Regions from separate parts of the Homo sapiens genome. Here regions 1, 2, 3 and 5 are each linked to region 4. The links are contacts of gene promoters, found by promoter capture Hi-C in human tissues and cell types (Jung and others, 2019). All regions are on one chromosome and are shown on one strand. Each heading gives the region's core, a stretch centred on a gene start or on the middle of the fragment in contact. The rest is flanking DNA. Distances are from core to core; before and after follow the strand shown. Region 1 overlaps CENPU (centromere protein U). Region 2 overlaps PDLIM3 (PDZ and LIM domain 3). Region 3 overlaps ACSL1 (acyl-CoA synthetase long chain family member 1). Region 4 holds the start of SLC25A4 (solute carrier family 25 member 4). Region 5 overlaps SORBS2 (sorbin and SH3 domain containing 2).

The links. Contacts are between HindIII fragments. The study calls those that stand out against the background at their distance.
Region 1: a fragment that was not itself captured here is called in contact with the fragment with the promoter of SLC25A4 in region 4 in 1 of the 25 tissues and cell types used here (dorsolateral prefrontal cortex).
Region 2: a fragment that was not itself captured here is called in contact with the fragment with the promoter of SLC25A4 in region 4 in 2 of the 25 tissues and cell types used here (heart right ventricle and lymphoblastoid cells).
Region 3: a fragment that was not itself captured here is called in contact with the fragment with the promoter of SLC25A4 in region 4 in 2 of the 25 tissues and cell types used here (liver and spleen).
Region 5: a fragment that was not itself captured here is called in contact with the fragment with the promoter of SLC25A4 in region 4 in 1 of the 25 tissues and cell types used here (lymphoblastoid cells).

Annotation. Positions count from the first base shown.
Region 1 is chr4:184,726,244-184,731,786 of GRCh38, reverse strand. It overlaps CENPU (centromere protein U), which reads left to right. Exons shown (of 13, transcript NM_024629.4): 2 at 819-867; 3 at 2,752-2,869. Among named protein-coding and RNA genes, the nearest start is that of CENPU, 5.1 kb to the left of the region's middle. The HindIII fragment of the contact is 5,564 bases long and covers 699-5,543 here.
Region 2 is chr4:185,528,788-185,534,922 of GRCh38, reverse strand. All of the region lies in intron 1 of PDLIM3 (PDZ and LIM domain 3), which reads left to right. Among named protein-coding and RNA genes, the nearest start is that of PDLIM3, 3.7 kb to the left of the region's middle. The HindIII fragment of the contact is 5,961 bases long and covers 669-6,135 here.
Region 3 is chr4:184,786,024-184,791,920 of GRCh38, reverse strand. It overlaps ACSL1 (acyl-CoA synthetase long chain family member 1), which reads left to right. Exons shown (of 21, transcript NM_001995.5): 3 at 3,190-3,304. Among named protein-coding and RNA genes, the nearest start is that of ACSL1, 37 kb to the left of the region's middle. The HindIII fragment of the contact is 5,273 bases long and covers 573-5,845 here.
Region 4 is chr4:185,141,652-185,147,440 of GRCh38, reverse strand. It overlaps SLC25A4 (solute carrier family 25 member 4), which reads right to left and starts at 4,175. Exons shown (of 4, transcript NM_001151.4): 1 at 3,958-4,175; 2 at 2,191-2,677; 3 at 1,542-1,682; 4 at 1-627. The coding sequence starts at 4,068. The coding sequence ends at 470. RefSeq lists a silencer at 4,104-4,403. The HindIII fragment of the contact is 7,904 bases long and covers 803-5,789 here.
Region 5 is chr4:185,596,507-185,602,172 of GRCh38, reverse strand. All of the region lies in intron 24 of SORBS2 (sorbin and SH3 domain containing 2), which reads left to right. Among named protein-coding and RNA genes, the nearest start is that of SORBS2-AS1, 11 kb to the right of the region's middle. The HindIII fragment of the contact is 4,572 bases long and covers 1-4,395 here.

The DNA.
Region 1 (5,543 bases), core at 2,231-4,730, 410 kb after region 4:
TGGTTTAGACTAAGCTGATTTTGCTGTCTACAAATGAGAAAAATATGGCTGCAATCTGCATGGCATATTTTAAAGTCTAATTATGTACTGTATTCTCCTGGAGTATCCCCCCCGTACCCTTGTACGATGCCTGGTTGGTGGAGGATAGTCTGTACATATTCACTGACTGCTGGCACTATTATTAGTAATAATGATATATAATCCTGCCACTGTTATTTCCCGTTTTTATTCTTGTCACCATTGTTACATTTGTTTTCTTGAAGCTTGTTGAAGATATATATACAACTTTATCATTTGAAGCTGTGGTCCAACTGAGAGAGTGTCAAGGGAGGTCGAGGGCAGGCCCTGGATTTGAACTGATGTAAATTTTAATGCAGGCTTGTCTCCCTCCTGGCTCCGTGTTGCTGTGGGCAAGCACACATCTGTAACATGGGATTCACTTCTACCTTATAGGACTGTTAGAATTAAATGAGAAAAGGACGTAGGAGAGCCAGGCACCGGATGGAGCAGGTGTCGGGGCTTAGCGTTAGCCTACCTCCCCTTTGTTCAGCTGTGCAGAGAAAGTCAATCACTGCTGATTGATTAAGGCCTCAGGGAAAAAGTTAACAGCAGGATTCCAACTTTTCCATGTCCCTGAGGGGGAGAGGTATGTTATTTTATACATTGGTGATAGGATTTGACCTATAAAAAATAAATTTGTGGAATATGGGTTCTTGTTTTTTTTTTTGGTAAAAATGCGCGGAAAGGGTCATAACTATGGTGTTTCCTCAGTTATTTTAACTATTTCCTAACTCTTGTGTTTTTTTGCTGTTTAATAGCGCAAGACGTTCAAAGAACACTTTAGAAAGAACACATTCCATGAAAGATGTAAGTTACCTTTTTGTGTTGTGGTTTTCTCAAAATTGACAGTACAAAATAACATTTTTTGGGTACCTCAGTTTTGTAGACTTCACTTGGCAAGTTCAATGTTTATTGTAGTGAAAAAGTGTGTTCATTTTCCTCACACTTTTTCCGGTATAGTGGATAAAATGACTTTTGTTAATGTTTTAGAATTTCCTTTATTTCTGAGCCGAGTTTGGTTTTATTTTCGTTTAGATAATTGACTTCATGTAAAAATTGTACAGTGCTGTAAGCTTTTTTCACTTAAAGCCATTTCTCCTCATTGTACTTTTCAAGAATTGTTTTATGATTTCATGATACTCCACTTAGTTCACATTACAGGTTTACTTTTCTTTAGAGTCTTAGAATAAATGTATGTTAAAGGCATGTGCATTTCTTTAACGTTCTTGATAGCTAATTCCAGTTTTTTTTTCCAGTGGCTTGTGTGATTGACATTGTAATCTCACATTAACAGTGTATGACAGTGCCAGGCACCCCGGAAGGAGTTCCTTCTGCTTGTTCTGCCCTGGGCTTTCTCTGTCCTGCATAGTCCTTAACCCCAGCCTGCAGACGATAGCTCTCTTCCCCTCTGGGAAACCCTGGGATCCCCCTGCAGGGTTTTGCTCAGCGCTCTGCTCCCACCCCGGCATTACTTCACGGGTTCTTTGGGTGGATTTCTCTCAGCTGTCCTGCCTTGCCCCTGCCATTGGTAGCCAAAGTACAGTGTGCCTCGGAGGGATTTCTCTAAGCTCCAGCCTTAGCTGGAAGCCCAGAGTGCCTGGAATGGATTCAGCTTTCCTGTCCTTCCCTCTGCAAGGCAGTCCCTGGTGGAGGCCCCCTATGCCTTGGGAGGGGCTGGAAGACCTGCCAGCTCTCTCCACATTCCACCCCCAAGCACTCCAGGAATGATTCTTTCACTGGGGGCATCTGAATGGTCAAGTTTTTATATGGTTTGCCAATTTTATTTGACCTCCTTTATACCTTCCAGAATTTTCTTATTTTTGTATCTGTTAATAGTACCCTTCCACATTTTCTGGAACTACCATGAAAGTTTTTCTCATTTTATGTATGTTTTCATGTTTCATTAGATTTGGGGTAGCAGACTTCATGGGTGTATCAGTATATTGAACTCTAAACCCTGGTGTCCTTTAGTCAGGAGTTTTTACACATGTGTACCCTTAAAACTGTTTATGAACTTTTGGGTATATGGGCATATTTCCGGAGACAGGACCCATCACTTTCCCTAGGTCAGAGGTTTAGGCAAACTGGCCCATGGGCCAAATCTAGCCTGCCACCTGTTTTTGTATATCCCTGCAAGCTAAGAATGGTTTTTACCTTTTTTAATGGTTGAAATAAAATAAAAAGACTATGTCATAATATGTGAACATGATATGAAATTCAAATTGCAGTGTTCAAAAGTCAAATTGTATTGGAACACAGCCATGCTCATTCTTTTCTGTGTGGTTACTGTCTGCATTCATGTGACAGTGGCTGAGTTAGTAGTCAAAACAGAAACCTTACGGCCTGCAAAGCCTAAAAGAATTTACTTTCTTGTCCTTTATAGAAAAAGTTTGCCAATCCATGCCTTAGGTTATCAAAAAATTCTATGTCCCCAAAAAGTGTTAGCTTGCTTCTTTCTTTTTATTTTAACTGAAACATTGTAATTGTACACATTTGTGGGGTCTGATTTGATCTTGCCATACATGTCTATGTTGTATAATGACCCAATCAGGGTAGGTAGTGAATCCATCACCCCATGCATAAGGATTGCTTCCTTAGGCAGCAGTGATTACAAGAATATTCTTGCTGTATAAATCAACCTATTGTTCTTTGTGAGAGCCAACTCAATGACTCAACTTTATTCACTTTTAGAAAGCTGGTCAAAAGTGCAAGCCTATTGACGTGTTCGACTTTCCTGATAATTCTGATGTCTCAAGCATTGGCAGGCTGGGTGAAAATGAGAAAGATGAAGAAACTTATGAGACCTTTGGTTAGTACTTTAAATCTTTATCCTAACATAACTCTAAAGCAACAACATTTAGGCCAGATATAATAAAAAATAGAAGTATCTTCAAATATAAAAATTAGTTGCCTGCATGTAAATATAATGTTCTCTGGGGAGTACTTGATAATTTGAATTAATTTTCCTCACTTACGGGTACATTGAAACTAAGAACATTATCAAAGCGGCACTCGTCTAGTAGTATTCATTAACAATCTGGTCACATGAGGACGCTTACTATAGTACTCTGTAATAAGGGGAACATAGCATACATTTCTCACTTCACTCTACCATTTGATAGAGCCATTAATTTAGGGAGGAGAAGAGTATGGGTAATTTTCCTTTGTCCTAAACTCATGGAGGCAGGGGATGCTTCGGGAGAGCCAGTGGGAGAGCTTCACCTGTGTTCCTTGGAGTGTGAGGTAAAAGGCCAGTACCAGGCTGGCCAGGAGTGTGTGAGTTGTCAGGGTGGGCTGCTTGTGTCACTGGGCACTCCAGAAGCCAGAAATGACAGAGAAAATGCCATGTGTCCCCACATCTAGAACTGCAGTAGTCAGGCATTTTTGCTGGAATAAGTTTTAAGAGAATTTTGAAGGCTTTTGGTTTAATTTTTTGTTTAAAGAAAATATTATACATTTTATAAGGTGAAATGTATTCACCAGAATAATGTCTTTTATTATGACTTGATAAAAATGTCCTATTTGTCTAAAATCTAAATCTAAAAGATCTGAACCTAAAACCCCATAATTTTAAAAATGGAAATGAATTCACATACCATAAAATTCACCCTTTTAAGGTGTACATGTCATTGGTTTTTAATTTATTCACAAGGTTGTACAACCGTCTGCATTATCTAATTCCAGAAAATTGTTATCCTGTAGAGAACCCTGTACCCATGAGTGGTCACTCCCTCTTCCCCCTTCCTTCAAGCCCCTGGCAGCCATGAATCTCCTTCCTGTCTCTACAGATTTGCCATTTCTGGACATATCAGTGGAATCCTAGACTCTGGTCCTTTGTGACTGGCTTCTTTTACTTAGTTTTCAGGGTTTGTCCATGTTGTAACGTGTATCTACCTCATTCCTGTAAGTTTTTATAGCTCAGTGATACTCCATTGTTTGGATATACCGCAGCTTGTTACCCATTTATCAGTTACATTTGGGTGGTTTCTATTTTTTGGCCACTGTGAATAATACTGCTGTGAACATTTGTGTAAGAGTTTTTGTGTGGACTTTTTTCACTTCTCTTGGGCATATAGTGGGAGCAGAATTGCTGAGTCCTATGGTAATTCTATTTTTAACTTTTTGAGGAACTGTTTTACAAAGCGGCTGCACCACTTTACAATTCCATGGCAGTATATGAGAGTTCCCGTTTCTGCACACCTTCACCAAAACTTACTGAGTTTTTTATTCTAGCCATCCCAGCACCTCATTGTGGGTGTGAGTGTGTGTATGGGGTATGGGTGGTAAAATATAGTTTACCATATTAACCTTTTTTAAGTGTATTAACTCTGTAGCAGATAAATACATTCACGTTGTTGTGCAACCATCATCACCATCCATCTCCAGAACTTTTTCATCTTTCCTAACTGAAATGCTCCACCTATTAAACAACTTCCCATTCTTCCCTCCCCTCAACTCCTGGCAACCATCATTCTGTTTTCTAGGAATCTGATGTAAAAGGAAACATAGAATAGTTGGTTCTTTGGTAACTGGCTTATTTCATTTAGCATAATGTCTTCAAGGTTTATCTGTGTTGTAGCCTGAGTCAGAAATTTTTTTTTTTTTTTTTTGGAGACGAAGTCTTCCTCTGTCACCTAGGCTGAAGTGCAGTGGCGCGATCTCGGCTCACTGCAACCTCCACCTCCTGGGTTCAAGCAATTCTCCCTGCCTCAGCTTCCCGAGTGGCTGGGATTCCAGGCGCCCCCCCCCCCCACCCCCCAGGACCACCACCACCACGCCTGGCTAATTTTTGTATTTTTCAGTAGCGATGGGGCTTTGCCATATTGGCCAGGCTGGTGTTGAACCCTTGACCTCAGGTGGTCCACCTGCCTCGGCCTCCCAAAGTGCTGGGATTACAGACGTGAGCCACTGCGCCCAGCCAGAATTTCCTTTTTAAGCTGAAGAACAGTCTGTATGTACCACATTTTATTTTTATCTACTCATCTGTTAATGGACCCTTGGGTTACTTCTGCTTTTTGACTGTGAATAATTCTGCTATTAATACTAACATGAGTGTATCAATATCTGTTTGAGTCCCTGCTTTCTCCTCTTTTGGACATTTACCCAGAAATGGAATTGCTGGATCATATATATTTTATATTTTCAGGAATCACCATTTCCACAGTGCCTGTGTTCCCACCAGCAGGGCCCAAGGGTTTCAGTTTCTCCACATCCTTGCCTACACTTGCTATTTTCTGGGTGTTTGTTTGGGTGTGAAGTACTATCTCACTGTGGTTTTGATTTGTATTTCCCTAATTACTAATGGTGTTCAGCACCTTTTCCGTGTACTTATGGCTGACCATTTGCTTTTTTTTTCCCTTTGACCTTCTTATGTATGATTATTGGCCATTTGTATATTCTTTGAAGAAGTTTCTGTTCACCCTTTGCCCGTTTTTAAATTGGATTATTTGTCTTTTTATTATGAAGTTGTAAGAATCCAGTTT
Region 2 (6,135 bases), core at 2,400-4,899, 390 kb before region 4:
CCCCGGCATTCCCTGGAGCTGGCGCGCATCTGAGCGTTTTTCTCGTCCGGATGAAAAGTTCAGCAGCGCGCTGTTCGCGGGGCACGACCTGCGTTGGCCAAACTGGAGCCGCTCCTATCAGCCCAGACAGGGGAAGTCTTCCTAATGCTCACTCCTCAGTTTCCAGGCATTTTGAGCACGTTTTCCAAAGCTGAGAACTTGGCTTAGGAATTACCAACTTCTAACTCTAGCTACAAAGAAAACGTGGCAGACAGTTTAGTTTACCTGATGCAAAGTAAACCACTCAGCCTAAAACGGAAAATAATGCTTTAATGTCAAAGTCAAGCTTTACTTGGTGTTCTCTACTGTCTAATGAGAAAACAAGGTAAAAATAAAACCTCAGGGTTTCTCTCCTGTCAGTAAATTTGTAGAATTAATTCTAAAGCATTATTTGGTCTAGCTGGTTTTTTTCTAACACAATGTTTTTCTTCATAGAAAATTAATGTATTATTTCAGTTATCACATATAAAACATTTAATACCTAAAGGCGTAAACTTCCAGAATATTATACTTTTAGTTGCAGAGTATTATACTTTATTTTCTTGTATTCTTCTCATGCCATATTTTATAATTGTATGTGTTATAATCTGATTGATCTGCTCATACAGATTTTGAACAAGGTAATACCTTTTAAATTCTGTTTTATTTATATATGCCTATGAGATTTGGGAACCAACATCCTTTTAAAAATATGTCAAAATGTGTATCCTACAGACGCATACAATGGAACGTTTCAAGCCTTGTTTTACATTTTTCAAAAACATATAAACACATCTGACGTGTTTTTATATGAAACATGAAAACTGTTCAACATACCCCCAAAAACGTTCCTAAGTAAAGTAAGCAGAAAATGCTTCAGTGACCTGGGCCAAGCAATTCCTATTATAGATTTACCAACAAAAACAGTTTCCGTTATATCTACTAAGAAATGTTTTAGTTTCTGGAGTATGGTTTTTATTTAAATTGAATAAGCTTTTGAATCCTAACACAGAATAAATCATATTTATATTAAATTCTAACCAAAATAATTTTGTCACGAAAACTTTTAAGGTGTTTATAAAAGAAATATTTTGCTATTATAGTATAATCGTATGTCAATATAATTAATCATATGCTTGAAATTTTGAGTTGTTGACATTATAAATGTTTATTTTAAAGCAGTACTTACATTCCAGAGTTGGACTACAATAGCTATTGGTAAATATATTTGATATAATGGCAGTTATTATTAGGGAAACCAATTCTATCTGGAATTCCTAACTCATAACTAATTTGTATCACTCATTTTTGACATTTGGTTCAATAACAGTTTATGACCAAATATGATTTCACTTGATTATGGCTTTTCTCTTTAATTAATTCTAGGACAGCAGGTAAAACCAAATCATTTTTGTATCCCAAGTGTCCCCAAAGCCAGGTATATAGTAGATTCTTATTGAATAAATAAGAACATTTATTTATTCAATAAGAACTTTTATGCTTTAGTGAACACCTAATTCAGAATATTTTCACTGAAATGATAAGAATATTGAAATTTGTTAAGGAAAAGAATAAAAAGTATTACAGAAAAGTATTACAGAAAAATAACTATCAGTATTGTTAAATGGTGAATTGTTGTACTGCTTTTAACATTTTAACACCATTTTGAAAGGCAGTGTGTGAGGTTGTAAGTGTGTTATTGTACTCTCTTGCTTGCCAGGCATTGATGGGAACCTTTTATGTGCACGAACTCACTGAAATCTCACAATAATCTTTAGGAGAGTAGCAGTAGTGACATCCCCTTTTGCAAATGAGGAGAATGAGGCTTCAAAAGATTTATTAACCCGCCGATGATCACAAGCAGTGGGACAGGCTCTGACGCTAGGTCTGTGTGCCTCCAAAGCCTGCATTCTGAAGGCCACATGTGAAAATGGACACCTGTTCCAATATTTCTAAAGAGTTGTTTTGTGCCATCCTGTTCATCACTGGCCTTATTGATGCTGTCTTCAACATCTGCCACTTTCCATTTTTTCTACTACTGTCCCTCTTCAAGATTTCCTAGCTCCACGCCTAGACATTTGGCTCCCCCGTCCAATTCACACAGCATATTCTTACCGTCTCTGGAAAATGCCAAATTGCTCCTTTCTCATTCTTAAAAATCCTTCAGCGGCATCACTTGTTTGTAGAGAGTGAAATGCGTGTCTTTGCACAACATTCATGACTTTTCACCATCTCCTATCCCAATTTGAGTTGCTAACTTCATTTCTTTCCTCTCCCTTTGTTGTCTCTCCCTTTCCTCCCCTTGTTCCACACGTAGGCAGTGGTACCGCCCTCTGGACTACTTACGATTTCCCTGACGTGTCTTTGCTCCTGATACCATTTTTCCCCACACCACACCACTGTCCTCTGTGCCTGTGGAAACCACTCAAATGCCTCTCCCCAAGCCTTCTTTCAGTAACAACCATCTCATCCGGTTGATTACTGTAGCTTTCGGCCTGTATAACCCCTCCTTATGTCATGCCTGTACCAGATGTTCCACTGCATCTGTATCCCACCAGATTGCACATTCCCCGAAGGCAGAAACCTTCTAATCTGGGGGCCATTCAGGGCCTAGCACAGTGCCTAGTAGAGCATATGTGTTGTAGAATAAATATAGACACGGTATGAATGATTGACTAGATTGTTCCCTTTTTACATGACTTTATTATAAATAGGTATAGAATGTGTTCTCAAAAATATTTCACAAAAAGATAAGTGAGAATTGTTTTATTGTGAGTTGATTTGTCATGTTTTTGTTTTGTTTTGTTGAGACAGAGTCTCGCTCTGTCTCCCAGGCTGGAGTGCAGTGGCGCGATCTCGCCTCACTGCAACCTCTGCCTCCTGGGTTCAAGCGATTCTCCTGCCTCAGCCTTCCAAGTAGCTGGGACTACAAGCACCCGCCACCATACCCAGCTAATTTTTTTTTTTTTTTTTTTTTTAGTAGAGATAGGGTTTCACCATGTTGGCCAGGCTACTCTCAAACTCCTGACCTCAGGCGATCCGCCCACCTCAGCTTCCCAAAGTGATTACAGTCGTGAGCCACCACGCCTGGCTGATGTGTCAGTTTTAAATAAGTTCTTAATATACAAAGAATTGAAATACCAATATCTACACTTAAAGCCACAAAAAGTCCCATAAACGAGATGTGTTTAATCGAGTCCCCATTAAATCAGCTTTTGTCCTCCTACAAGCTATACCCTTCACTCCCCGCCTCACACTATACAAATACAGACGACAGCAATACTGCTAGACAATGGGGCTCCAACCAGAGTTTGTAGGAGAGTGACAAATATGACTGCCTCCATCAATTGAAATTACAGTTCACAAAATTAGGACACAGGGCCCTCATGCCCGTAATTGTTTACAATCCAAATAGCCAGATGAATCTTTGTATTATAAAAAAATCAAAAGTAAGGTAAATCAAACACCAGACATTCTCAAAACAAATTTTTAGCAACTGGTTGTGATAAACACAATTTTTAGGAAAGCAGTTTCTAGGCAATAAGTGTGATAGACCTTGTGCAATATAAAATTTCAGTTTTGGATGTTCAGTTTAGGGGAGGGAGTTGTTAAACACCGTGTATAACTGGCCTAAGCATTTCACAGAAGAATTTGAAGGTTCACTTCTTCAAGTGAGCATCTTTTCTTTTTATAAGAAGCTTCTAAAGAGTCTAAGTTTTTGGACCATCCAGAAGCTAGATCTACTCTCACAGACAAGTTGCAAATCGTTTGCTTTGACAAGATTTCAATATGGAATATAGTAATCCCCTCTCATCCACAGGGGACACATTCCAAGACCCCCAATGGTTGCCTAAAACCTACATTAGTACCAAACCCTATATATATATACGTGTGTGTGTGTGTGTGTGTGTGTGTATGTGTGTGTGTGTGTGTGTGTTTCTATGCATGCATACCTATGATAAAGTTTAATTTATAACTTGGGCACAGCGCTCTTGCACTTTGGGGCCATTATTAAGTGAAATAAGGGTTGCTTGAACCCAAGCACTGCAATACTGTGACAGCCGATCTGATAACTAAGACTTCGAAGTGATTTACAGGTGAAGAGTGCAGCATAGACAAGGTGGATACGCTGGACAAAGGGATGATCCATGACCCAGGTGGGACAGAGTAAGACTTCATCGCGCTACTCAGCACAGCTGCAATTTAACACTTATGAGTTGTTTACTTCTCAAATATTCCAATTACTATTTGTAGGCTGCAGTTGGTCTCGGATAACTGAAACTGCAGAAAATAAAACCGTGAATAAGGGGAGGCTAGTGTACAGGGCAAGCTTCTTTTGTGTACATGATATAAAATGATTGTCTATATCTGATGCCAGTGTGTCTTTTCTCACTAAAATGTCTTCCCCCTCTTCACTCCTCCCTCCTTCCTATGCAGAGCACATCCAAGATCAAGATTATTATAACTGAGAATGCTATATGAGCTTGAGTACCAATATAGAAAAAGTTAGTGTGTTCCTAATTTGTACAGGCTTTAAGATAGAACAGTGTATGACTTTAACATAAACTACTTTTGAAATTTCATGTAATATAAACTACATTTGAAGTTTAAACTTTTAGAAAGGACTGTTTGCAATGGAATGCAATTCTTTTCCAGGGTAAAACACAAATGTAGTGGAAAGGTTGATGTAAATAAAAACCTGTTCAATTTTGTTCTAACACAGACCGTGTCTACGTGGAAGTACTGGTTCATGTGTAACTCATACATCCCACAAGCATCTACTGTGTGCAGAATGTCTCGTATGTGAAAGACACTGTGGGCATATAACTGTGGCTTAGATGGGCTTCTAACCCCTGAGAAGATAATATATCAGCAGAAAAAAAGGAACATGTATATGAACTGCCATCACACAACCTATCCAGAATTCCACAAGAAAAGTATGGTCAAAGAGCTAGGAGGTGTTGAAGGAAAGATTACCTGCAGGAGAGGCAATGCGAGATGATAGAAGATTCTGAGCTATAGAGCGAGGCGGACCCAGATGGGAATTTCAGGTTTTCTCGGGATGTGGGACCCTAACCAAGCTTCTTATACTTTCCAAGCATCCATTTTCTCATTTTAAAAAAGAGATAACTATGTTGTAAGATTGTCTTAAGAATTATGTGAGATAATAGTTCTCAATAGTAATACGGTGATGGTTCCCAGCCCTGGCAGCATGTTAAAGCCGCCCATGTGACTTCTGAACACAGCCATGCCCAGGTGCATGCAGAGATTCTAATATAACCGGTGTGGGGTGTGGCTCTAGAAATGTCTTTGGCAGGCAGGTGCTGCAGGGCTGTGGATGCCAAGGAGGCACGCGGAGTCTATTTGCTAGGGATGGAGAATGAACAATGGGGTTTCTCATGATTTTGGTCCGTGCCTACCGTGCAGTGCTTCAGTGTGTGCTTGTCTTGCTCCATAACTATTTCAGTCGTTTTTATTAACAGAAACATCATCTCAGGACCATGTCTTGGGCTTGCCTTACGTCTCCACATAAATAGGACATTATAGATGCTTTATCTGTGTTTTCAGTTAGCTTTTTTTTCCCCAACAGATCCAAGTAATATAAGTTGATGTGAATAACAGAAATCATCTGAGGCGCTTGTTGAAAGCATAAATTCCCTGGCTCCTCTCCTAGAGATTCTGTTCCTGATTCCGAGCATCTGGAATAGGACTGGAGCCTTTAACGTTCAGCAAGGGCCCCAGGTGATTCTTATAATCACACAAGTTTGAAAACATGGTGCTAAGTGATTCACTGCAGTACCGTGTTCAATGATCTCTCTGGTACTTTTGATATTTGAGACCCTAATGAACCTAAATAAAAAATAATCCGCTGACAAACACTATGCCTCATTTCAGCTCTCTCTTCTAATTTGGGAAAACAGTAATAAACTGTGCATGCTAATACAAAGTAATATAATAAGGAAAGAATATAATAATGCAATAAAGTAATAATATAAAGTAATGCAGGGAAAACAGATCGTTTAACTTAGTAAAATCAGGCCAATTTCGCAGTCATTTTCTGATCACTGGGCTCGCTGAACTTGAAAACGAGGAAAAAGTAAAGACATCATGTTTTCT
Region 3 (5,897 bases), core at 1,960-4,459, 350 kb after region 4:
CCAAAGCTAAACTTCATCTCTTTTCTGAAGCCTACCCCCAGTACCCAGTCTTCTATTTGATTAAAGGGGACAGTTTTTCTTCTCAGCCCTCCTTCTTTCTGCTTACACCCCATTACCTGTTAAATCCTGTTCCTGAGTGCTGCAGCACGCCCAGTGCCTTGGTCCTTCCCGGCTCCCAACTCCCACTGCCCTATCCAGGTCTGTAGGAGTTGGTTTCTCCCCAGTCTCTTCCCTCCCTCCTGTTCCACACACTGCTTACGCTTCTTGTAGATTTCTTTCTAACCCATTAGCCCATCCTCACCACTTCCCTGCTGAAAACTTCCCTGCTGGAAACCTGCTGTCCCTAGGAAGGTGCTTCTCAAACTTTAGCATCCCCTGGAGGGCTTCTTAAAGCACAGATTGCTGGATCGCATCCCCAGAGTTTCGGATTCAGCAGGTCTGGTGTGATTTGCTTTCCTAACCAGTGCCAGGTGTTCCGCAGAGCACACTTTGAGAAGCTTGGCTCTAGAATGAGCCTGTGCACCTGAGATTTCAGGCTTGCTTCTGTCTGTTCATCCTGACTCTCCCTGCACTCTTCTGCTCAGCCAGGGTTCCCTGGAGTCCCTGTGGTCACTTAGAGACAAGACGTGGGCTCCTTCAGAACAAGCTTGTGTCTTGTTCACCTTATCCCCATCTGCCCATTCACAGCTAGGGGAACTCCTCTGCAGAGTGCAGAAAGTGGTGTTGCTTTTGAAGAGAGAGCACTGAAAAAGACCATGAATGCATTTCTGTTGTGTCAAGAGGTATAGAAGGCACCTTTGTAAGCAGAGCATCGTGAGGACCTCCCTGTGGGCGGCCAGGCCACCTGCATGTCTAGGCCATGCTGAGACAACCACACTTCACCATCATACTTGGTACTTTTCTTATCTCTTTTCACACCCACTCATTCTTCCTGTTTTCTCTCATTTTGTCCTTTCCCCCTTTCTCTTCCTACCTTAGCCTTGGTGCCTTCGGTGTGTTTGGTGGCTTCATGGGTTGAAAAGGCTTCTGATATTCACTACAAAGCCACAAAATTGCTTCTGAATTTCAGGCTATTTGTTGGAGTCAAGACTGAGGTGATGGAGGACTTGTACTGTAGTTAGAGCATGTTATCGGGTGCACAAGTAATATTCTACACAATCATATTTTACAGGAAAGTTCCTCTTTAACAAAAAATAACCCTGGAAGTGGACTCATGATGTCTCCATTTTACAGAAAAGAAAACAGACTCAGCGATTAAGTAACAATAATGCGTGACACTAAGCAAAGATATTCTCCCATTCTTATGCACACAGAGAATAACGTTTTTGCTTCATAAAGTAGTGTGCTGTAGTTAGTAAGCATGTTTGGAATCACAGCCATAGGTGTTAGAAAGTTTCTGCCGAGAGAGAAGACATTGTGATGATTAAAAGATATGGTTAGGTCATATTTACTCCAGAAAACTATTAGCAGTTTGGGATCAAGAGTGAAATACACACATGTAGCACACAGTAGATATTGACAGAATGTCTATAAATGTATAAGCATAAAAAAAAGACTGGGAGGAATTTACCAAACTACTAATAGTCATCATTTTTCCTTGATATACTTCTGTATCACTTAAATGTTTTTAAACAGTATATACATTATAACTTAAGGGTGGACAAAAAGCAAAAGAGCTTGTAGGAAGAGAAATGGATAATCCTAATAAAAATAGAAGAGTCCATGGAAACAGATCAGGCAGTCATCCCCTTCTAAAGGGTCTCCCTGTGAGTTCATCCCCTGGCACCCATCCACTTCCTCCTCAGCGCGGCCCTCCTCAGCCTGCCGCCCTACTCTGAGACCTAGCTTTTCCACACTTCTTTTTGGTGTCTCCTGTTTTGTTTCATCACACCTTAAGCCAGAAACGATCTCTTCCACTTTTGGACAGCTCTCTCCTCTTGGTACCAGAGGTTATCATATCACAGTCTAATTTCTCCAAGGGTTTCCAGACTGTTGTAAAAGTGAAGGCCCCTCTCTGAAATTAAAAAAAAAAAAAAAGGTAGGCTCTAACGTCATAGTCACTGAGCTTTTATTTATCAGTCTCTAAAGACTGCTTTTTGGCTTTCTGTGGATGTCTGGATGCCTTACAGTGTCCTTTGGCCCCAGAGGACTCAGCAGCTCACATTGGAGACCTGCTACCTGTAAAGACTACTGCTGCTACTGTGGGAGGCTAGGCCCTGCCGCCTTATCCATCATTAGGAGTTCTTGCACATAGCAAATATACTCAGGAAGCTAACAGATGAAGACGACTTAGAGAAAGGTGCACAGCGATGTCAAATCTGCACACCTATAAATGTTGCACCTAAAACTAATAAAGACCTGTGTCTGCACATGCATATGTTTTGTAGCTGATGATTTTAACTGTTAGAGATGCTATGCAAGAAAGTGAAGTTTCTAACAGATGATATTGCGCTTGGTGAGGAGATAAAATAGTGGAAATAGTCTCAAAAAGAATATAGGTAACATTTTAGAAGTATAACCAAATGGGGTTTCATTTCCACCAGAGCTGAACAGGATCAGTCCTCTGTGCTGTGGATGGCAGTGGCTTGAGAACTGTCAATGTGTGTAGTGGTGGCAGTTTGTGGCTCTTCTCTTGCTCTCTTTGGCCTTATCCGGCAGGACCAGCACTTGTAGGTCTGTAAACCTGTTTTCTCTCTTCAGGCATCTTTCTGACTTAGCCGTGGTTCCCCGAAGCCTGTGTTTACCTCCAGGCGAATGATTGGTTTACATCAGCACATCTTGCACTGCAGTCTTTCAGCACTCACTCACTGGGCAGCTGTTCCGCAGGTGGCCGCCTAGAGGGGTGCGGATACCACAGGGGCATATTAGACTTTATATTTAATTTTTAAGCATTTTATTTTTTAATGGACAAATACAAATTATGTGTATTTATGGTGTATAATAGGAACGAGTTCAGGACATCTATTTTTAATAAAAATGGTGACCATGTTCACTATTAGTTGGTGACTGTAGTTAATAACAATGTACCATATACCTGAAATTACTAAGAGAATAGATTTTAAGTGTTCTCACTACAGATAAGTGACAAGAATGTAAAGGAATGGATATGTTAATTAGCTTGATTTAGCCATTCCACAGTGCATAGATGTTTCACTGCCTTCTAACCTGCCCCCCTTTCTTTTTTGATAGGGTAGTGGTGGTGCACGAAGATCCGCACTACTTGACAGCGACGAGCCCTTGGTGTATTTCTATGATGATGTCACAACATTATACGAAGGTTTCCAGAGGGGAATACAGGTGTCAAGTAAGCATTTTCCTGCATTTGCGTGGCTCCCGCTCGCCGTGTTTCATGAAGAACGAGTGGCCTTTCAGAAATGCACATTTGCTCCTATCTTTCGCCTCCTTAGGATCGCTCAGGCCCCTCTGTGTCCACTGTAACTTTCCCAGAGTCGGTCCCAAAGCTCACTGGACCCTCTAGATGTTCCCTGTGGCCCTGGGGGCTCCATGGTCAAATATGTGAGTGTCACATCCTGTATTTTATGGTGAGTCACATGTTACACCAGTGCACAATAGGCTCTGACGTTTCCTGCAATAAAGAGGTCTGTTGAACTGGGCCCAATCCGGCATTTTTCATGCTTACTTGACCATGAGACCCATATTTTGAGAAAGAAATACTGACATCCCAGGATGGCAGTGTTCTGTTAAAGATACTTGGGAAATGTTGGCTCATGGGATTACCCTTAATTATTAACTGTAGTGTAAGAAACCCTGTGATATCCAGCATACCTCCTTTCCAGCCTCTGTCCCTCCCAGGCCTCCTGTATAGGGCCCTCAGGTCATACTGAACTTCCTGCAGAGCCACGACTACCTCTGCTCTCTCCCAGCCCTGAGGCTTTGTGCAGTTCTATTTTGCTTTTTAGAAATGGGGTCTTGCTATGTTGCCCAGGCTGGACTCAAACTTCTGACCTCAAGTGAGTCTCCTGCCTCAGCCTCCCAAAGCACTGGGACTACAGGTGTGAGCCACCATGCCCAGACTTGTGCACTTTTTTTTTTCTTTGGACGGAGTTTTGCTCTTGTTGCCCAGGCTGGAGTGCAATGGCATGATCTTGGCTCACCGCAGCCTACACCTCCTGGGTTCAAGTGATTCTCCTGCCTCAGCCTCCTGAGTAGCTGGGATTACAGGCATGCACCACCACGCCCAGCTAATTTTGTATTTTTTAATAGAGATGGGGTTTCTCCATGTTGGTCAGGCTGGTCTCAAACTCCTAATCTCAGGTGATCCACCCACCTCGGCCTCCCAAAGTGCTGGAATTACAGGCGCGAGTCACCATGCCCGGCCATGCACTTTTTTTTCTTGATCATAAAGCCTCTTTCTACCCCCAGCCTGGGTGCTTGATGTATTCTTTAATCTTACAAAACTCACTGCATTTCACCTTTTCTCTAAAACCTTCCTAGTCTATCATTTTCATCCCCTACCTCTGAGTGAAGCATTTCTTCCCTTTTCCCTCCCAGCATGTTATATTCCTTCTGCATAACTCCTGATGGCACAGAGGTGTTCACCTGGCATTCTGCCCCCCTAGCCCGAGCTCCTTGAGAACAGGGTGGTTATCAGTCATCTCTTTTCACAGCACTGACAGTGCCTGGCACACAGTGAGCGCCCCACTAATGCATCCTCAGTGAAGGAGGGAGTACCTCTGGTTTCTCCACCCCTCTTTCTATTTTAGCCACTTCATTTTTGCTTATACCAGGTACTTGTCTAAAAATGGTCTTGGAATCTGTGCTTTGTTATTTAAATCCTCTGATGCTTAGCTTTTATTTGGGCCACTGCTAGCTACATTGTAATCTTTTTACGGTCAGGAACCATGTGGTATTGCTGGCTCTATCCCTCATGATAGGTTGCATGTAATATGCACTCAAGAAGTGCCTATTGGCCGGGCATGGTGGCTCACACCTGTAATCCCAGCACTTTGGGAGGCCAAGGCGGGCAGGTCACGAGGTCAGGAGTTCGAGACCAGCCTGACCAACATGGTGAAACTCCGTCTCTACTAAAAATACAAAAGTTAGCTGGGCATGGTGGTGCATGTCTGTAACCCCCGCTACTCAGGAGGCTGAGGCAGGAGAATCGCTTGAACCGGAGAGGTGGAGGTTGCAGTGAGCCAGGATTGCACCATTGTACTCCAGCCTGGGTGACACAGCGAGACTCCGTCTCAAAAAAAAAAAAAAAAAAAGAAAGTGCCTATTGTTTTTTACTTGACACTGGTAACATTGGATGTCTCAGCTTGGCGAGTTTGTCCCAGTGTTCCCATAGCACGTGCATTAAGCCCTATTACAAAGGAAAAGCAAGCTTACTTGTGTATTATTTAATTTATGAACATTCTCAAAGTTGGTGTCAAGGTCAGGGTTTGTCTGTGATAGTAAATATCCATCAGGTGGATCAGCCTAACATATGGCACATGAAACAGTGTGTGTGTGTGTGTGTGTGTGTGTGTGTGTGTGTGTGTGCTTTGCCACCACCACAGAGCACATATACGGTAAGTCCTCAGTTAATGTCTTTGATGGGTTCTTGGAAACTGTAACTTGAAAACCACTATAATGAAACCAGTTTTTCCCATAGGCTAATTGATACGAACAGGAGTTACATTCCCACAGCGTATTTCTAGTCACAAAAACATCACCAAACTTCTAAATAAAGACCACGCTTCTTATGTTAAACATGAAATAAATGTGAGCGATACAGACATTTAGGAACAATTGATAAAAATAAGATATTTACCTGTTTATTCCAGTTAAGGGTCGTGGGCGGCTGGAGCCCATCTGGGCAGCTCAGGATGTCAGGTGGGAACTGCCCTGGCCAGGACACCCTCCCATCGTAGGGAGACTCATACTCACACCCACTC
Region 4 (5,789 bases), core at 2,926-5,425:
ACCGGAACTTTAAGCATTGTACGTTCTCATATAATACATTCTCAATATAATATCTGGCATTTAGAAGCTTGGCTGCTGACTGATACATGAATCATGCTAGAAAATATGCATTTTTGATCTTTTAAAAATGCATTTTACAGTTAATAAGAGTTCAATAAAATAGAAAGCGTGCATTAAGTGGTCTTTATTGATGTTTCACATTCAGTTATTATCAATTCTTCAGTTAATTGTACAAGTATGATAAATTATTTTCTATTTGCTGTGGGAATTTAAATGTAAAATAAATACAAAATACATGTGTGGTTTAATGAACACTCAATGAAGCATCTCTTCTGAGGTATTCCTTTCAGTCTGGTTTTATCCCAGATCTTTTTACTTCCCCTAGGAATAGTCTATTAAACCACACAATGGATCTGTGAACTTGTAGATCAAGTTCACTGTAAATCTGTGAACTTGTGTTTTAATTACATTAGACATATTTTTTGATCTCATCATACAACACCAATACAAAAGCACCGCCCATGCCTCTCAGCACATTGGACCAGGCACCTTTGAAGAAGGCCTTGGCTCCTTCGTCTTTTGCAATCTTCCTCCAGCAGTCAACTGTCCCCGTGTACATAATATCGGCTGTGGAAACAAATGCTGGTGAGGGCTCCGTAACGCTGGAGGAAAGAGACTTTTCCCCTGAAACATATCTGTACACACTGTTACCAGTTTTATAAAATCAGGGTCATCTGGGCATGGAGTCCCAGCTCCATGCAACATCCCACTGGACATCTCCTTCCTTGCTTCACTGGCAGGCTGGGTCTCCTGTCATTCCTACTCCATTAGTTCAAGGTCAGTGAAGAACTGGGGCAATTAACCAAGTAATTCATGGACTGCCCAACTGCGAAACAAGAAGGGCGCAGTGGAGCAGGAGTATTATGCTACGCGGTTACCTTTTTTTATGGAGGACCGAACTGAGGCCGAGCCTCAGATGATCCTGCACGAGGTTATGCAGTCTAAATAAAAGGCTGTAACTATTCGTTGAAACATACGAAACTGCTAACATTGGACTGTTTTTGACTTTTAAAGTGGCAATTTCGTATGGTTCAACCTATAGAAGCCAAAACTTTCTCTGGCACAACAGATTGCTTCAGGCCATCTCTACCCAGCTAAACACCCCATCCCACTAACACCTGTAACTAGGAGGGAAGCAAGAGTTCTTTGTAAGAAGTAGCTAACTACTTCTTTTCCCTAGCTTTTGCACCCAGGCTCTAAGGGAAGAGGGCCTAGGGTCTCTATAATGCTGGATACCTAGTTAAATTCACATCTAAATGTCTTACTATTCATGTTCTTATCATCTCTAATAAAATGGAAAATACTTTTCCCTAATAGGATAGTTGAGAACGTTAGGGGGAATTAATACCATCTTTCTTCCCTAAGTCCTTATCAAATAATTTTGAAAATTAATTTCCAGTAAGGAAGACTGAAAGGAGCCCTGTAAAATGTTCTCCTCGGGCAAAACCAAACAAGTTTAGATGAGTAGAGCACAAGCTTACCCCCTTTCCGGCCGGACTGCATCATCATTCTACGACGAACAGTGTCAAAGGGGTAGGACACCAGCCCTGCGACTGCCGTCACACTCTGGGCAATCATCCAGCTCACAAAAATGTGCACGTTCTTGGGGTCAGGCAGCATCCCTGTGGACAGAGCCCAGAAGCCGAACGGCTATGAAGTGCCTGTTCTCAGCAGAAAGCAGGTGGAGGGAGAGAGGCCACTGCACCTCCAGCTCCATGCTCTGACCTTGCGGGGAACCTGCCCCTGTGCAGGTGCTTCACATATGACCAGGCAGACAGCAAAGGTGGCTGCTGCCCTCTCCGGACCCCGGAGGGGCAGTGCTCAGCTTGTATACAGGGCATTGGAAGTGGCTTCAAGTTAAACTCAGTAACTGCTATGGCTGTGTCTAGAGGGAGACAGGCTCCCCCCTCCTCCTCTCTGAATAACTAAAGGCCAGAGTTTATTTCAGTAGAGGACACAAGGAACGCTTCAGCTATTAACTTATGCACATCACCTCCTCATTCAGAAGCCTCAATTATCCCAGAGACTAGAAAAAACAAGATCAATATATATCAGGTCCTTTGTGAGTTATAGATCCCATAGGATCCTCTTTCCACACCACCCTCCTTCTCCCCGATGCCCCTCTCTCACCCTTGGCAGTATCATAGACTCCGAAGTAGGCAGCTCTATAGATAATGATGCCTTGGACAGAGACGTTGAAACCCTGGTAGAGCCCCCTCAGGCCATCAGACTTGAAGATCTTGATGATACAGTCGCCCAGACCATGGAACTCACGCTGGGCGGCGCCCTTGCCCACATCAGCAGCCAACCTGGTCCTAGCAAAGTCCAGCGGGTAGACAAAGCAAAGGGAGGTGGCCCCAGCGGCCCCACCGGACGCCAGGTTACCAGCAAAGTAGCGCCAGAACTGCTTATGCCGATCCACACCCCCTAAGAAGAGCTGCTTGTACTTGTCCTTGAAGGCGAAGTTGAGAGCTTGGGTGGGGAAGTAACGGATCACGTTGGCCAGGTTACCCCTCCAGAAGGAGAGGAAGCCCTGCTCCTTAGGGATTCTCACCACACAATCAATGATCCCTTTGTACTGCTTCTCAGCACTGATCTGTTTGCTGGCATGCTGGACCTGGTGGAGGGGAGGGTGGGTGACAGAGGACAGGCAGGGTAGAGAGAAGGGAAGAGGACAGGAGAAAAAAAAAGGTTTGCACTTCCTAGATTTTTTTTTTGAAGAAAAAAAGGATGAGGAAATCAAATGGATACTGAGGACGTGTAAATGGATACTGTTATCCATGTTAGTTACTGGATAACAAGCCAAAATAATCCAATGTTGCTTCAATTATTAGGGTATTTGAGGGAAAAGGTATTGCCCCAAATAAACTGAAAAGGTGATTGAATTATATAAAGCTATAGCCATTTATTTATTTCACTTTCCCTAGGTTTGAGAACTGTATGAGGGGCTTACTGGGGGACAGAAATGAGTAACACTCCCTGCTTCAAAGGGCTTTGGATTTAATAGACATGATGGCCAAAAAATGACAATTTCTCAGTGTCACTCTGATCACCCTGGAGATGAGGATCTCTACTAGATGCTCTAATAGAGGAAGGAGAATAAATCCACTAAACATTAGGCCTCCAAAGTTTTCAAGCAGATAATCCAAGTAATCAATTATTAAGGGTTTGCTGCCGTTGTGAGCAATTTGTGGGGGTTTTGTTGTTAGTAATTCTGACTCCCAAATTGGGCTCTTCCTCATTGAGGGGCCCTGACCTTTTGGGCAGGTGGAGGAAAACACGAGAGGATGATAAACCATTCAGCGACCAGGTAGGGGAGGAAAAGATTTGGAGACAGGATGATCTGAGTTTATTCCGAAAATTGTTTCTTAATATTTCAAAACCTCAGCTTCATCTGTAAAATGGAGAAGAATAACTCTCTCACAGAGGTTACATAAAGATGAAGGCGTCAGCCTACATACAGCATTGTGCATGAGATACGATAAGGGAATTCTTGGGTGATGATTATTTTGATGTTTTTATTGTAAAGGTGCGTGCGCATAAGACGGTGCCAAAAATACTGGCAATCACTAGGTGCCTCCGGGCCTGAGTGCACGCCCGTGCTGTCACGGGCGCAGGATCTGGCACACGTAAACCGGCTCCGGGTGGGTTTCCATATATAGACACCCGAACGCCGGGCGCCACCCGACACCAGGAATCTGCGACTGACGCTGGACCTGTCTCTACGCAGAGGGCACCTTCTTCCCCCGCGGGCGGGCGGGCGGGCGGGCGGGCGCCCGGGCCTGTGGCCTGGCGCAGATTTTCCGCGGCGCCCCGCGCCCTGCAGCTCGCGCCGCATCGCGCGCCCCGCCCGGCCCGCCGCGCCCGCGCCCGCCTCTTGCACCGCGCGGTCCTCACCTGCAGCAGCAGTTTGACCCTCTCGATGGGGGCGACCGCGGTCTTGGAGACGGCAGCGGCGACGCCCCCGGCCAGGAAGTCCTTTAGGAAGCTCCAAGCGTGATCACCCATGGTGACAGCTCGACGCTCTCAGCCCGCAGGCAGCCCGTTCGTGCTCTCGCCCACGCCCGGCCTGGCACCGCCGCGCAGTCCCCGACCCTGCGCGACGCTAGGGGGCCGCCGCCTGGCCCGCAGCTCCCCCTTATATCCCCGCCGGGCTCTCGCGAGAGGAGGCGGGTCGCGGCCGGCGCTCGCGCCGCGCATTGGCTGGGCAGGTGCGGGGCGCCCCCTCCTCCCAGCTGCAGAGGGCATCGGGGGCGAAGGCGCTTCCGGGAGCGAGGCTGGGCCGGGGGCTGTCCCTGCAACTTGGGACGTTTAAAGGGCACATTCATGTTATCTGTCCCGCCGAGCCCAGGGAACACCGTGTCACCGCGGCATGTGGGCCGCGTATTTATAGCACAGGCAGCCTTAGGCCGGGGCGAAGCCGGGGCAGACACCGGGCCGCTGCCGCCGGTGGAGAGTTCTTGACCCTCCGGCCTGCACGGGCCGCGCTCAGGCCCAGGGATTTCGAGCTGTTTCCTCCTTCTTGCATCTAAAGGCGCCCCCCACCAGAGCTCACTGCCTGGATATGGGCCTCTTTAGAGCCGTGCGCTCCCGAGAATAAATGGCAGTCCTCTCAAATAGATACTAAGGTCACCTGATGCTGTGATTGCCTCATAGAATCTGACAACCTGCTGCCTCTCATTTCTTTTCATTCAATCGTTCGTTCAGTCATTCATTCTGCTATTACATATTGATGTGTCTGGCACTCAGTGCCCACAGGAAAGACCTGGTGCAGGGGGCCACTAGGTGAATTCATACTTGTTTCTGCAAAACTCTGTGACTCTAAAACACAGGACACTTCTTTTGTAAGCCCCTAAAGGGTTCAATGTACCACTCTGCTCTCAGCGGAATTTCAGCACATATTAGGGCAGAATGTTCTGTCTGTCAGCCGGTGCCTTCTTGAGGGTCAGTGCTGTCAGCCTTCCGGAGATCCAGTCCTTGGCTGTATTTGCCTCTTTTTAATGACAGCTGGGGTTGAGGAAATGCTATTTAATCCCAGGAAATTAATTGCAATTAATTTCTTAAAATATATAAATCTGAGCTTTAATTTTCCTTAGCTTGTTTTTTAGGCAGTTCATGTAACCATACAGGTTTTCAAATACAACTGTTCCTTCCCCTAGAATGACTGCAATTCGTTTTTAACTTTAAACTCTTCACTCAATTATCTTCCCATGTTTGCTAATTTTCATTTGTACCTTTAACAAAGTTTATTCATTGTTTTATAAACTTTTTTTTTTTAATATTTGCTGACATCATGTTAGAGGTTTACGGAGCTGCAGCTGCGTGTCACCCTGGGCGTGGAGACTTTGGTATAGCAGAAGTCACTAAGGTTCCAGGGCCACAGAGGGCATGCGTTTATCTAAGAGTGGGGCAGGCTAGAGTTCCGAAATCCAGGTAAGCAGAATGAAAGCTAGAAACTAGTGGAAAGCTGCCAGAGGTCAGAGCAGACAGAAGTCAAGAACTCGGAAGAGACAAACAGATAAACCATGTATGTGTTCATTCAACAGACTCTTGCTGAGCATGTACTGTGTACCAAGAACTAGGTGTAGCCCTGTGGATTGAATATAAGTAGACGTGGCCCATCTCCAAAGACCTTACAGTTCAGTGTATTCGTCACTTGCTCCACTTTATCAAAACTTCACTTACTGATTTCCATGGATCAGCATAATCCACACAGTAAACCTTTTTAA
Region 5 (5,666 bases), core at 860-3,359, 460 kb before region 4:
CCGGACGTGGTGACAGGTGCCTGTAATCCCAGCTACTCGGAAGGGTGAGGCAGAGAATTGCTTGAACCCGGGAGGCAGAGGTTGCAGTGAGCCGAGACCGTGCCACTGCACTCCAGCCTGGCAACAGAGCGAGACTCCATCTCAAAAAAAATAGTATAAATCTCAGCTCCTCTATAAGCTGAGCCTCCATTTCCATCCGAGAGACTATTTTGCAAGAGACTTGCCGCATGTGGTCTCAAGTTGCAGCGGAAGCTCTGTGAGGAGAGTGAGAGGCTCTTTTTTAGGTTTCTTCCAAGTAACTCAGTGGTTGTGGTCCCACCAGGAAGTCTCGTCACCCTAAAGCAGTCCCATCAGAAGGGGATCCCCGGCGCACGGTTTTCAACATGAAATCAGGCCCTGATTTTTCCTAATATGTTCACGTGCTCTTTCCAGCTGTTATGATCCACATCATTCTAAAAGCTAAATGGGGTTATTTTTTTTCTCTAAGAGCTCTGATATGCATTGAACCCCTGTATTAGTCAAGACTGGGATAAGCACAGTCCCAGAAAACTCAAAATAATTATAGCTTAAACAACGTAGAAATATATTGCTCTTACACATAAATGAAGGGTGTCCGGGACTGGTATGGTGGCCCCGCAGTCATCAGAGAACCCAGGAGTTTCCATCTGATGTGGGCTCATCGCCATCCTCAGAGAGAAGCTTCCGCTATGGGTCCCAGGTGGCAGCTCGAGTAGTTCCCTTCTCACACGAACCAGCAGGAAGGAGAAAAGATGGGAGATTACACCTTCTCCCTTGAAGGCCAAGTCCCAGAATTGCATATATCCCCTCGGTCTCAGCTTATGACATGAGTACATCCAGCTACAAGTCAGGAAATGTGGTCTTTATCCAGAATGGCCATGTGCCTACCCAACAGCCTGGCCCCATTACTGAGGACCAAGAAGAGAATGGATGTGGAGAGCATCAAGCATCGTCTGCCACGACACTTAAGCAACGGTGCCAAACACATTTCATCCCGAGAGGCTGGGGATTTGAGGTCAATCATTACTGAGAATTAGGAAAACTTTTCTAAATGAGAGTTGAGAAAACCACATGCTTTTATTTAAGCGTGTTTTATTCCTCCGGAAGTTCTCTTAAGCCAGATCAAATACCAGGCAGTACACTGCCAGATCCTGTCCGCTATTGGAAGGAAAATAAAACCTACACAAAAGAAGGTCAGCTTACTCACTGTCATATGAAAGATCTTACTCTGAAAATAAAAAAAAAACACCAAAACAGTCCAGCCCACAGGTTGGCACTTCAGTAGTTCATCAAATTTCACCATGTTTCCCCCCAAAAAGGCCTTATTTTCTTCTTATGTGTTAGAAAATTTTGCCTCCAACAAATGTCTGATACAGTCCATGAAATTTGACAGGCATTAAGCCAAATTCTCCTCTATCTCACCTTGCATCCCTTCAATAAGATGAAAAAGCAGGGCAGGTTTGAGAGCATCTTGAACCCAATTGCTAAGCATTCTATGAAAGACATAACATTTCTTGGCCGGGCGCAGTGGCTGACACCTGTAATCCCAGCACTTTGGGAGCCCGAGGCAGGCAGATCACTTGAGGTCAGGAGTTCAAGACCAGCCTGACCAACATGGTGAAATCCTGTCTCTACTAAAAATACAAAAATTAGCTGGGCCTGGTGGCGGGTGCCTGTGATCCCAGCTACTCGGGAGGCTGAGACAAGAGAATCGCTCGAACCCGGGAGATGGAGGTTGCAGTGAGCCGAGACTGTGCCATTGCACTCCAGCCTGGGCGACAGAGCCAGACTCCGTCTCAAAAAAATAAAAGACAAAAAAAGATATAACATTTCTTATATGTTCTTGGCCTCTTCCCTATGCCAGCTTTCCTCTGTGAACCTTTTTCTGCTGTGCCTGTGGGTGCCATGTTAAGATGGCAGCTGGTGCCTGTGGTGTGGAAACTGTATAAGCAGCTGGAGAAGCTGTGGACCCTCCCTGCCCTGCTGTTGTGCAGGAGTTTGGCATGCTGTGTGTGCATGGAAAAAGCCAGCCAGGAAAGCTCCTCCTGAAGTCTGTGTGACGAAGATGAGAGCTAACTAACTTCTTGTACATTTTCCAGGCTGACGTAAAAAGCGAGATATGTGTCCTGGGTAAGCCTCCTCGTAGCCCAGTGATGTCTAGGAGATTCTGCGGCTCACCTGTCAGAGGGCTCAGCGGTTCCCACAGGGTAGGGTCAGCATGCCCCCACTTTGTGGCAGGCATCCTGGCCACCTCCCCCGCCCCCAGGGCTGGCTCTTCCTTAGTTGTCTTTGCTGTGAACTGGCCTTAAAGTGAGGCTGGAGACACCCTGAAGATGAAGCGACCACCTGGTGATGTGCTTCCCTTTTAGGTGTGTGTGAGGTTTCCAAACTCCACAAAGACATGGTCAGATTCTCTACTCTACAAATAAGAGTGTCGTGTGTTTTGTGGTCTACATCTGTCTCATGGTTCTACACTAAATCACTGCTTTCTAGTCACCGTTTCTCCTGCAAAGAAAAAACTGTTGCCAAGCATCTACAGTGCCGAACTCACACACTTCCGGTCATGTTTGCTTCTGTGTCATTCAATTTGGATTTTTTTTAAATCCATGATTCTTGTCTAACATCTTCTGTTTCTCTGGTGATGTGCACTACATCCTCTCAGTCTGCCTTTTGTCCCCATACTGCTGTCTGGATTCTATCCACTTCCTATTTCTTGCCAGCTCTGATTGAACTTAAAGGTCAAATTACTTTCCCTTAGCTACTTCGTTCCATAGTATCTACAGTACTTTAAAATACATGGACTCTAAATGGTACTTACTATCAATTCTAAGGAATGCAGCCAAGGAGTTTGGAAATTTTCATCTGGACATAAGTCAGGATTCCTTTCCTCATTTCTGTTTTAATGGACCCGGATTCAACCTTGACTGGCCTATCGCATGGCCGTGCTTCTGCATTTCAAGAAGTTCTCAAGGGCTTGATTTCACAGAAGTCTTCATTTTTTATTTCTAAAGAAAAGTCGATATTATTCTGCATTCATGCCACTTTGTGCTTTTTGCATTGCATAGGAAGACCTCATTTTGTTGCTGAGGCAGAGCTTTGTGTTGCCATAGAGACAGAAATGCCAATTTGTAGAGACTCTTAGACTCCCCCGAATGGCCTTCCAGAGCCAAAGCAAAACATAAGCTTCTTTTGCAGTGAAAAGGACCCATCTATAACCCTCCTGTGGGTCCACGAGATGGTATGCTTGTGTTCCCCTTAAGGTTTTTTTTTTATTTTTTGCCTGATTTTTACATTATGTATTTGTATGTCAGATTACACGTGTGTTTGTGTGAACCATAAATATTCTATTTTTTTAGATTTATGCAAAGTTGTGTTTTACCTTCATAATTTAAGAAGGAAAAATAAGCCTCTAGAAACATAAACGTGGTATTATTAGGAGAATTTCATCGAATTCTGGTGGGCAAATATGACAACTAATATTTTATAAAAAAAGATAAAAACACTTTAGCACTGCTTATATTGCTTTCAGAGATTTTTTTGCATTAGTGTTTAAAGTAACAGTCAATCCTTCTTTAAGAATTATTTGATACTAAATATAGCTAATCCTCCAGAGATAACTGCAGAAGCTTTGATAAATTAGACGGCTTTTCAACAGACTGTAGCTCACTAAGATCGGAAAGTATATATTTTACTGATGTTACAGACTCCATGATGTTTCAAACCAGCTTCCTTATGAACAGCAACTTGTGATTGGTTCTGGCTTTGGAAATTAGCATGTGTTTAAAACTTGTCTCTTTTGTATCCGTTTTTGACAACATTAAAAAATAGCTACAGAAAAATACTTACATAGTCAGGGCTACAGAAAAAAATACATATTTAGGATACGATGAAAACCGCAGCATGCTTCACTGGATTTTTCTCTTGTTCTACTCTTAAGATTCATCAAGGAAATATAAGCATAATATAATTCTTGTTCAAAATGCCCAGCACAGTGATTGTAATGTGTCAGTTGAAAGCCATCTTTCTAGGTTCAGCTCATGTAAGCCTCTCTGAATGTCACAAGTGTATATTGTTCTATATTTATCTTAAAACTGCTAAGAAGTTAGGGGAAATGGAAATGCCTGCACAGATAGTCAAAATAGAAATGGACACGGACCAAAAATGCTGGTGGCTTTACAAGGGATGCTTTCTCAAAAATTTAAAACGTGGGGAGGGAAGAACATGGTTAGGAAAACAGATGACTGTCTATTCCACATCACTCTGCGGCCTTTAAAATAGGCTTTTAAAATTTTTCCAGCCTTGGGAACTTGGATAAAAAGGGGCAGATAAAGCAGAAACAACTCTCAGCTTGTTGCTGCCATTGCTCACCACTAGGTGGCGACAGAGTGCAGCTGCATTACAAATCTCTGCTTAAGCGACTTGCCATTTGAGTTACATCACCAAGGGGAAAGGGCGAAAGACAGTCTCCCCAGATAATCTATTTACATCACCTTATAGGACATTTGCACCTACCTCAGCGTCAAAATTAAGATGCTGATTTTAGCCAAGGTAGGCCAAGTAGTCCATCATAGTAATCTTTCATGCAATAGCGTGCACATCGAAATTACCATTTTGTTTCTTTTTCTGTTTGTTTTTTACCTATTTGTCGTATTAAGAAATTATCCAGTATCTTTGGGTTTTGGTTTACCATTCTGCAAAATGGAGTTGAATTGTAACCATTATTTTTTTTTACGTGACCGAGACACATGAGAATTAACCAATCAATGTCAGTGTCCCAGCTCTCTGTGTAAAACTGATGACGGACACCTTTACACAGCAGAGGAAATACATCTGTGGAAATGTGTATCCTTCATGGAATCCCTGAGGGGACCCGATTAACCCTCATCTTGTCCAACTCATTGATTTCAGAGATAGGGAAGCTGAGGCATCCCCAAGGTTATATGGTGCTTAACGCCCAAAACAGAAAGACGCAGATGAGCCGTCTTAGATAACTGTTCTTGCTACTCATTCCCTACTAGTCAAATGCCTTTAAAATAAACTATTTCAAGTACTGTAATTAGTCAGCTTTCCTCAAAACTGTCTCCTAGTTATCCACATTAACATGGAGGTGATTCTTGTTAAAGGTAAGCTTTGAAAAGTTCTAAAACTCGCCATTATAAGACACACACAACTTCTCTGCTACGAAAAGTCTTGATTGATTCTGGCCTCAGGATGTGAACAGTATAGAAAACTGATGATTTGTGTGTAAAAAGAGGGGCAGGGTTTGAAAGATATGAAGGAAGGGAAAAGAGAAATTGGGAAACAGGTAAAAGCAAGGACGGGGGCCGGGCGCAGTGACTCACGCCTGTAATCCCAGCACTTTAGGAGGCCAAGGCGGGAAGATCACAAGGTCAGGAGATCGAGACCATCCTGGCTAACATGGTGAAACCCTGTCTCTACTAAAAATACAAAAATTAGCTGGGCACGGTGGTGCGTGCCTGTAGTCCCAGCTACTCGGGAGGCTGAGGCAGGAGAATCGCTTGAACCCGGGAGGCAGAGGTTGCAGTGAGCCAAGATCACACCACTGACCTCTAGCCTGGTGGCAGAGTGAGACTCCATCTCAAAAAAAAAAAAAAAAAAAAAAAGCAAGGACGGTGCTGGCTGCCCCA